Regions from separate parts of the Homo sapiens genome. Here all the other regions are linked to region 1. The links are contacts of gene promoters, found by promoter capture Hi-C in blood cells and fetal thymus (Javierre and others, 2016). All regions are on one chromosome and are shown on one strand. The core of a region is centred on a gene start or on the middle of the fragment in contact, and the rest is flanking DNA. Distances in the headings are between cores, read along the strand shown. Region 1 holds the start of LINC00853 (long intergenic non-protein coding RNA 853). Region 2 has its middle 4.7 kb from the start of LINC01738. Region 3 has its middle 35 kb from the start of LINC01738.

Region 1 (3,150 bases), core at 288-2,787:
AAAAGTGGGATCTTTTAAGTGAACAAAAAAGAGGGGAACAACATACAGTGGGGCCTGTTGGGGCAGGGGTGGGGAGAGCATCAGGATAAATAGCTAATGCATGCTGGGCTTAATATCTAGGTGATGGGTTGACAGTTGCAGCAAACCACCATGTTTTTACCTATGTAACAAACCTGTACATCCTGCACATGTAGCCTGGAACTTAAAATAAAATTAAATTAAAATTAAAAAGAAAACAGCACCACCACCATCAAGGAAAGCCTGTTCCCAACCTCCAATTCCAGCTCACTAGCTCAGCCTGTCTCATTCCCCTTTTTCTCTCTCCCCTCTCCTCCCTGCCCCTTTCCTCACTTTGCCCCCACCTGTCCTCACCATCCCACCCCATACCTCCAAGCTCACAGCTAGAACTGACCAAAGGCCCAGTTATTTATTTACAAAGTCCATGTCCAGAACTGTACCAGCCTCAGCGGTGTGGAATAAACTGGTGTGGCCAGGTCCATTGTGCTGATGCCTCAAGAGATCCAGGCTGGTACAGATGGGTCTGGCACATTCTGTACCTGCCAGCCAAGCAGAGCATCCAGCTTACTTCTCACTCGACTCCTTACATAACGCTCGTCGGGTACTCTCCATTCCTTGGGCTTAAATTCCATAGTGTAATATTAGTAAACCAGGCTAAATGATCCTAAGGATCTTGCTAGCTCTGACGCACCGTGATCTTGCATCCAATTCAGTTCACTCTGTAATAAATAATCATAATAACAATAGTAATTTTCCAAATAGCTAACAGTTATTGTGTACTGTATGCTAAGCACTATTCTATGTATTTCATGTGAATGTTTAACATTCATAACACCACTTATCATGTAGACATCATTTACTGCCCTAATTTACAGTGAACTGGAGCTCCGAGAGTCACGTTGATTTAACCACAGTCCCAGGCTACCAAGTGTCCAAGCTGTGCTGCTTCCAAGCTGCCTGACCCAGACCTGAGCTCTTAACCTCTCAATGGGCATCCAGGTCGAAAGCAGAATCTCTGGCTCAAGTGCCGACTGCCCAGCTGTTTCAGAACTCCACCATGCACCCAACTGCTCCTCCAGGACTTCCCTACGGATGTGTTGCAGGCTCTGAAACGTCACACATCCACGCCGCATCCTCATCCCACACATGCTCCTGCTTGTCCCTGGCATCTGCCATTCTCAGTGCCATTCACTAGCCTATATGATGCCTTCGAATCAGAGGAAGTTACCTCTCCCTCCAGGGATACGGGCCCACACCTGGTCTCAGGGACCCTTTAGTGGAGGCACAGTCTATATAGCCCAGAGCAGTGCCCCTGATGCCATCGTCTTCCAATTTGCTCAGAGCAGACACTGGGATTCATCCTTAATATCTCTCTCTTCTCTCTCTCTCTCTCTCTCTCTCTCTCGCGGAGGCCCCACTGCCCTTGCATTCCACAGGAAGTCCCAGTTGCTGGCATGACCTGAGAGGTTCCTGGGACCACGCCATGGAAATGCGTCCGGTCCCAGTGTGACGGGGAAGAGCCGCGCCTGAAGCTCAACTTCCGAGGCTCTCATCAATCTACGCTTCCTTTGGAGCGTGCAGCCACCAGGTGGCAGCCGAGGCCACGGGCAGACAGAAAAGCTCCCGAAACTGAAGGACTGCCAGGCAGCAGAGTTCCGGAGGGCTCCCAGGACCTTCAACCAGAAAGAGACAGAGCATATGCGCATATGTATGTCTGAGCCCGTGCACGGAGGAGGAGTATGAACAGACACCGCGGGACAGATGGCTGGAGTTTAGTCCCTTCCTTCGGGGCTCTTCACCACTCCTTGGGCTTCCCTTCTCCTGTCCAGCCCTGTCCTGGGTGCACAGAGAGGGAAGTCACTCCATTCCTGCCCTTGAGGAGCTCCCAGACCCAGGGCAGGAGCAGGATGCAGACAAGTAGACAGCACCCTGGGGTGGGTGGAGTGAGTGGGGCAGGTGGGGCGGGTGCAAAGAGAGGGAGGAGCAGGGGCTGAAGTTGCCCGGAGGAAGTGCTGAACCCAGGAGTGGGGAAAGGAGCATCTGGGAAGAAATGGCATCTACGCTGATCATGGAGGGCTTTCTGGCAAGTCTCAGGAGCAATAATAACACGGATGTCATCTCTGTTTCCTCCCAGCAGCCCTGCAAGGAATGTACTATAGAGCCAATTTTACCGGCAAAGGAATGGAAGATCTGAAAGGCTAGGCGATCCCACAAGCATCGAGGAGCAGGCTGGAATTTGAACCAATCGGCATGATTCCCAAGCTCAAGCTTTTGGCCACCCCTGCACTGCCAGGGACAAAAAAAAAAAAAAAAAAAAACCCTGGGAGGAGAGCCAAGCTAGGGAGTCAAGACCCTCCAGCCAGGTCTGGATGGGAGGCAGGTGCCTCCACCCTGGTCCCAGAGCAAGTTCTGCTGGCTTCAGCCACCTGACTTCCCTGTGAAGGTGGGTAGAGGCCAGAGCAGACTGTGTGTGATTCTGGCCCCAGCCCCAGCACCTCTACCCCCACCTTTACTACCCCTAGGCTGCGGGAAGAGGCTTTGCCCAGCAATAGTCCTGATCTAATGGATCCTTGAAGCACAATAAACAGATAGTATTTCTGCATGTGTCACTCTGAGTATGACGGCAGTAATCTTGAAACTCCCCTTGACCACCTGGCACTCTGGAGACGGAACTCCACAGCCTGTTTTCAAAGCCAACTCCTGGCTGGAAGTTCCTCTTCAAGTCTAAATGAAGTAAGCAGTGCTGCAGTCTTCCCTCAACTGTGCAGTTGCTGGGTGGAGGCTTTTCTTTTCTGCCTGAGTTTGGGTATAACCTATAATGTAACCCTATGAAACTTACATGTTTTAGGTGGGAGAGGGGAAAACAAGGTGCAAGCCCTGTTCCAGGAAGAGCAAAAATGTCCTCAACAGTAAGAGGACATTCTGGGCTGAGAGCCAGGGCTTGAGGCAGCCTGCAATCCTGGCAGATAGCTGGTGGAAGGGACCACAGAGAGATGATACCACACACAGAAGTGAGACCAATGAGATCGTGGGAACTGCCCGGCCAAGGGTTGACATCAAGGAAGCTTAGGAGGCAGGGGACAGCTGGGAAGGGGACAACCAAGAGAACCAGCTGGAAACTGAAAAGGGATG
Region 2 (3,150 bases), core at 276-2,775, 500 kb after region 1:
ACTTACTGCTCCCTCTGTTGCTTTATTTGCACTTACTGCTCCCTCCCATCTTCTCAGCCTTGACTCTCTTACTCATCCTTTCAAGATGGAGCCTGAGGGTCAGGAAGTCAGTGAAGCTGCCCCTATCACCCCAGCCAGAGTCAACTCAGCCGTCTGGGCTACTGGGGAACCGGGCCCAATCCCTGGGACAGCCCTTCAGCTGCTGCACGGCCACGGTCTGGAGCCCCTTAAGAGCAGGAGCGTGCCTTGCTCTTCTGAATGCCCCTGGCACCTGCACAGGGCCTGGCTTAGTAGGTTCTCAGAACGTTTTCTGAATGGCCAAATGAAGGCTTGACCCTGCGAGGCCCATACTGTTCTCTCAGTTTCACAGATAAAGAAACAGGGGTTCAAAAAAGCTAAGCCATCTTCCCAAGCTTACATAACCAGGCTGAATCGTATGCAGGCATCTTTCTACACACCATTTTCTCTGCCTGTAATTCTCTCTTCTCTCTTTTTCCTGGCTCATTCTTTAGACTCAGCTTAGGTATCACTGCCTCGAGGAAGCCCTCCAGGGTCTTTCTTCTGGGCTCACCCAGCACTTCTCTCCCAACACTGCAGAGTAGACTGTTTTTCCCACTGGATTGTGAACACAGGGACCAGGACTGCCTCTAGGGTGTGTGAGGCCTCTGTCTCTGGAAACAATTTGTCACTTAAAATCAGTATGTCAGCGCCATTCTGGAGGCCCCATTTCATGGGATTCTATAAAAGAAGTACTACACTGGCCAGTGGAAGTGATCCATTTGCCAGACTGCTCTACTGGGACCAGGGCCTGGCCATGCAGTCCCAGGTAAAGCCTATAGGAGTTAATCCTAGAGTTCCTTAGGGCATCTGGTCAACCCCCGGTGTGAAGGAGAGGGTTGGAAAGAGCCCCGAAGGGGAGAAATGGACCAGGGCCTATACAGGTCTCAGTCTGGGCTCACAGCATCCCATCTGTAAGATACTGCAAGCCCTAGTCACCTGATACTGTCACCGGATCCAAGTACCCACAAATAATACTCAAACCTGGCTCAGACGTCACCAGCAGGGATCAGCAAAGACTAGCACATTCTAGGCCTCAGTTTCGCCACTTGTAAAATAAGGCTGTTAGGTTGAATAGTCTCTGAGGATTTTAGGATTGCTCCAGGAAATCAGTGAAGGATCGTTATTGATTGCCCCCAAATATTTCTTGGTATTTACTGCAAATCCCAAGTCCCAGGCAATGGAGAGGGATTTAGAAAATGTTGAGGTTGGCACTCAAAGTGTGAGGCTGCTTGAGAAGTAAGGCAGGAGCAGTGTCCCTGCACACCCAGGTCAAAGAGCAGTATTGACAGAGGCCTTTTCCATTCCATTCACCACTGGGGCAACGTAGTCATGGGCCATGCATATGGCCTGGGAGGTGTATACAACCCAAACCCAAGATGAGCCTATGGAGTAATGAAGCTGCTAAATGTGTGGGTGGCCCTAGCAGAAGAATAGTCTCTAGATCAAGGGAGGTCAGTATCTGCTATCCTTGCTGACCAGCCCACATCTAGAATTAGGCATTCCGTGATGAGCTTCTTGTTTCAAGAGGAACATGGAGGAATTATATACTATGTCTAGCTCTTAGAAGGGTCATTACATAGAAACAAAAGCAAAATTAATATTGTGAGACGCCAGAGGGCGGAGCAAGGGTAGACGATGCAAGTAGGGAGATTTCAGCTAGATTTGAGAAAGTCTATTCTAATAATCCCAGCCGCTCAGAAATGGACTCAGCTGCCTGGGGAGATAGTGAGGTCTCTGCCCCCAGAGGTGTGCAAACAGTGGGTGGATGGGCTACCTCTGAGAGGCTGCAGGGCAGGTCCCTGCCCCGGGAGCAGTTCTGTTAGACTCCCTTTAAGGTCCTTTACAACTCTAAGATTCTGAGACTAAATCATCATTGAGAATCTGTCTTGTGCTGGATGCCGTGGAGGTGAAAAGAGAAAAGAGACAGGACCCCAGCCCCCAAAGTGCTCTCATTCAGGTGGGCAAGACAGACAGGACATTGTCATTTATAATTGAGTGGCAACTGTCATGATTGGGGGTAGTGAAAGTACTGAGGGCTGTGAAAGCCTAGAGGAAGGGGCCACCTTGCACCATGACCACAAGCATGTCCTTGGGGCTGGTGATGGTGGCCCTTAGAACAGCACTATCCAATAGAACTCTCTACAGAGATGGAAATGTGTTATATCTGTGCTGTTCAATATGGTAGCCCTTGAATTGTGGCTGGTTGGACTGAATTTTACATTTTACTTAATTTAATAGCTGTATGTGGCAAGTGCCTACTATATTGGGCAGCACAGACAGAAGACATTTCTACCATTGCAGAAAGTTCTATTGGACATCACTGCTCTAACGAGTTAAAATAGGCAGCTCTGTGATCCCAAGGCGCCTTCCTTTCCTCCCCTCACCGTGTCAGTACCACAGAGAGTGAGGCCTGCAGACACGGGTGTCAGAGCACCGCACGGGCCAGCTTCCTGTGTGACACTGAATCAATCCCTCCACCTCTCTGGGCTACAGCATCAATAAAATGAGGCATCAAACTATAAGGCTTTACAAAATAATAACAATAAAGACTCTGAGGGTCTAGAACTAGGAGAAAAAGGAAGCTTCACTTTTTCTCCTTGTTCTTCCCTTTCCCCTCTATTGACCCCAACCTTCCACCACCCAGACCACAGCTCCCAAAGACCCCAAGAACTTTTGTATTTACCGCTTAGCACTTGCTATACGGGTCTATGACCTTCTTTAGAAACTTTTTCTTTACGAGTTTATTTTGGCTTGTGCTGAGCATTCATAAAATTCCTAGGGAACTGGAGGTTTAAACCTTGGGCTTGTAAAAGGAGTAGGTGGGAGGGAGTGGGAACCCGGCAGAGAAGGGAGAGGACTGCAGCCAGCCCTTGGAAGTTGGAAGACAAGACTAAGTTTTCCACTCTCCACTCAAGGCCTCGCCTTCTGTGAGTCCTGGGTCTTTTAGGTCATGAAAGGGGAGAAGAAGAGAAGGAGAAAGAGAAAGAGGGGTGGGGCGGGAGGTGGGTGGAAGGAATTAGAGGCATGAAGGGCTGGGATTTTCCCACTGAGTGAGCAGAGCAGGGCCCATTTCTGATAAGCGGTCTCTCT
Region 3 (3,150 bases), core at 427-2,926, 470 kb after region 1:
TTATGGGCATTTAGCTCCTGGACACTGACCAGCATGATAAAGAATCTGCGCAGATAGCAGCTTCCCAAGGCACAGCCAGGGACCAGTCCCAAGCTTCTGATTGCTCCCCATGTCTTCAGCTCGCCGGGGTCAGCCTCATTCATCAGCAATGCTGCCTGTCATTGGTGCTCTGACAGGCCTCTGGCCACCAGGGTCTGCTGCTTGGTGAAAGCCCTTATTAAAATTAATCTCATTTTTACGACGGCACTATCTATCTTCTGTCCAGTGGGAACTCGGGGTCACTGTATTTTTGTTTACTGTCAGGCTACTTCCTTTGGCCATAAATTGCTTCCCTTCCCAGCTGAGCTGGAGCCCTAGAGAACAACCCAATTCTGGTGTGTTTGTGTGTCTGTGTGTGTGTGTGTGTGTGTGTGTGTGTGTGTGTGTGTGTGTTTTCAAAGCCAACCCTGCTTGGCTGCCTCATTTCTCTGGCCTCTGCTGCTACCCTCCATCTGCTCTCTATTTGAGGAATCTGAAGATTTCAGCTTTTCCTGTCTCTTGGCGGCAGCCACCTACACTCTATCCTCTGTTCCCTCTTCTTGTTTAGAGAGTCTGTTCAAGGCTCTGCATGTTCAAGAGATAGTGCTGAGCATTTGTCACAACACAGACTTGCACTAAGGGAACCAGGGAGCACAGTCCAGCAGGAGAGACCAACGGGATGCACAGGGAGTGCTGCTGTTCCTTCTGCCTACAGTGCTTTCTCCCACTACCTTCCTCCAGGGAACTCCTACTCATCCTTCAAAACCCGGCTTCAACTGTGCGCCTGCTCTGGAGGCTTTTTTTTTTTTTTTTTTTTTTTTTGAGACAGTCTCACTCTTTCGCCAGGCTGGAGTTCTGTGGCCCAATCTCTGCTCACTGCAACCTCCAACTCCCTGGTTCAAGCGATTCTCCTGCCTCAGCCTCCGAGTAGCTGGGATTACAGGCAAGTGACACTATGCCCAGCTAATTTTTGTATTTTTAGTAGAGATGGGATTTCACTATGTTGGCCAGGCTGGTCTTGATCTTCTGACCTCATGGTCTGCCCACCTTGGCCTCCCAGTGCTGGGATTACCAGGTGAGCCACTGCGCCCCGCCCTCTGGAGGTCTTTTTGGATCCTCTTCCAAGGCTGAGTTACTTGTTATGTCCTCTGTGATTGTACAGAGCACATCCCGTACTATTTTGTAATTATTGGTTTAATGTATTGCTCCTTGAAAGTGGCGAACATTTCTGTATTTGTTTCCTAGAAATGCCATAACAAAATACCACAAATTGGGTGGCTTAAAACAACAGAAATTTATTCTGTCACAGTTCTGGAGTCTAGACGTCTGAGATTAACATGTCGGCAGGGCCGTGCTCCCTCTCAAGCTTCTCGGGGAGAAGCCTCTTTCAGCTTCTGGTGGCCCCAGGCATTCCTTGGATTTTGGCAGCACCTCTGCCTCTGTGCGTTTGTATCTCTTCTTATACTGACACCACCCTACTCCACTATGGCCTCATTTAATGTTACTAATTATATCTGCAATGACTCTATTTCTAAACAAGGTCACATTTTGAGGTACTTGGGGTTAGGACTTCAACTTGTCTTTTTGAGGCACACAGTTCAGCCCATCACAATCTCTCATTCATGATTATATTCCCAACATCTGGCACAACCCTTGGCTTGGAGCAGGTGCTCAGATCACATCGAACAAACGAACACTTTCCTAAATGATTAAACAATTATATAAAATACAATAGCAAGATATGTAAGCCCCAGTGAAAGACAGAAGTGAGTGTTCCATGCACCCAGTGGGAGGGGGGCTCATTCCACCTGGGGCTTCTGGGATGGCACTTCCACGAGGCTTTGAGGAATAAGTAGAGGTTCAACTCATGCAAAAGTTGAGACAAGGCACAAAAGGACCAAAATCATGGACACAAAGTGAGGACTATTCTCATTGACCTGAGGACCAGCTGAAGCTTGGACAGTAGACTTTATTTTGGGCCACACAGCTAGGAAGTGGCAGAAGTAGCACTGAGACCCGTGACAATCTGTCACTTTCTCTGTTATTATGTTTCTCTCTTGTGTTAAAAACAAGTTCCCTCTGTGGCCCCTGAAAGACCTGTGGCTCTTTTCTTGAAAGATCTTACTTGTCTTAAATAGGCAAGTCTCTGAAGCTTCTCTCCGAGACTTTTATAATTTATGTTGTTATTGTGGGTCTGTGGACAGATGTTAATTTTCACTTTGCAAGCCCATTTTTCAGATTGGCTTGTGGAAGCAGAGCGTGCTTTGGTGGCTGGTCCTTTCAGATCACCATGGAGTGTAGGGAACTGGACAGGCCATAGAGAGTGGCTACTTACCTGCTCCCACAAAATACCTCACATCCAATAATTCCTCTGGCATTTCTTTTAAAGCATATATTCAGGGGAATATGGCAGGCATGGAAAGCCCGCCCATTAACCTCTTTCTCTGCATCAAAGTCTTATGAGTGATTAACCCCACCAATGAAGCCTATCCATGGGGTTGTGTGAAGGGAAGAACTGGGTCCCAAATGACAAGCAGCCAAGAGTGGGGGTGTACAACCTGAACCCCAAAGACACATCCTGGGTTTGAATCTTGGTTTGGCCATTCATTAGCCAAAGGCTGTGCCTCAGTTTACCATCTGTCAGTGAGAATTATGGTGGCATCCACCCCATGAGGATTTTTGTGAGAATAAAATGAGTTGGTAGATGTGAAGTGCTCAGAGCAGCACCTGTTACAGAGCAGGCACAGACAGAAGTGGTAGCTGTTGCTATTGTTATTGTAATGAATAGAGCTTCATGTATGGAGTGCGGAGAGAACTGGGTTGGAAGGTTTGGGTTTCTAACATATTATCTATGATGATAGTAACTTTGGCTAAAGACGTTTAGCAAAATCCAGCATTATATCAACATCATTTTCATTGCACAAGAAGGCTGCTGCATGCTGGAAGGAGCTATTGAGAGAGAGTGGGAGGACAGTGTTTCAAGGCAGAATCTTAGTGAACGAATGCCTTGAGGCAGCAGGGTGAGGGTGCTTAGGGCTGGGAGAAAACCAGAGACTTAGGAAGCAATCATGAAACACAGACGAAACTAGAGAAAACATCAGTTTGTGCCTATTCCACATATTTATTTCAGTC

Evidence for each region. The method cuts DNA at HindIII sites, captures the fragments that hold promoters and counts their contacts. A CHiCAGO score of 5 or more calls a contact.
Region 2: a fragment that was not itself captured here is called in contact with the fragment with the promoter of LINC00853 in region 1 in 7 of 17 cell types (naive B cells, activated CD4 T cells, naive CD8 T cells and 4 more); the score reaches 8.8 in naive B cells.
Region 3: a contact is called between a fragment that was not itself captured here and the fragment with the promoter of LINC00853 in region 1, in 1 of 17 cell types (total B cells). The highest score is 5.3, in total B cells.

Annotation. Positions count from the first base shown.
Region 1 is chr1:47,177,713-47,180,862 of GRCh38, forward strand. It overlaps LINC00853 (long intergenic non-protein coding RNA 853), which reads left to right and starts at 1,538. Exons shown (of 2, transcript NR_047498.1): 1 at 1,538-1,726; 2 at 2,156-2,627. It overlaps CYP4A22-AS1 (CYP4A22 antisense RNA 1), which reads right to left and starts at 1,911. Exons shown (of 6, transcript NR_199717.1): 1 at 1,478-1,911; 2 at 413-737. RefSeq lists an enhancer at 1,409-1,910. The HindIII fragment of the contact is 3,617 bases long and covers 1-2,284 here.
Region 2 is chr1:47,682,228-47,685,377 of GRCh38, forward strand. No RefSeq gene overlaps it. Among named protein-coding and RNA genes, the nearest start is that of LINC01738, 4.7 kb to the right of the region's middle. The HindIII fragment of the contact is 2,229 bases long and covers 412-2,640 here.
Region 3 is chr1:47,652,269-47,655,418 of GRCh38, forward strand. No RefSeq gene overlaps it. Among named protein-coding and RNA genes, the nearest start is that of LINC01738, 35 kb to the right of the region's middle. The HindIII fragment of the contact is 588 bases long and covers 1,383-1,970 here.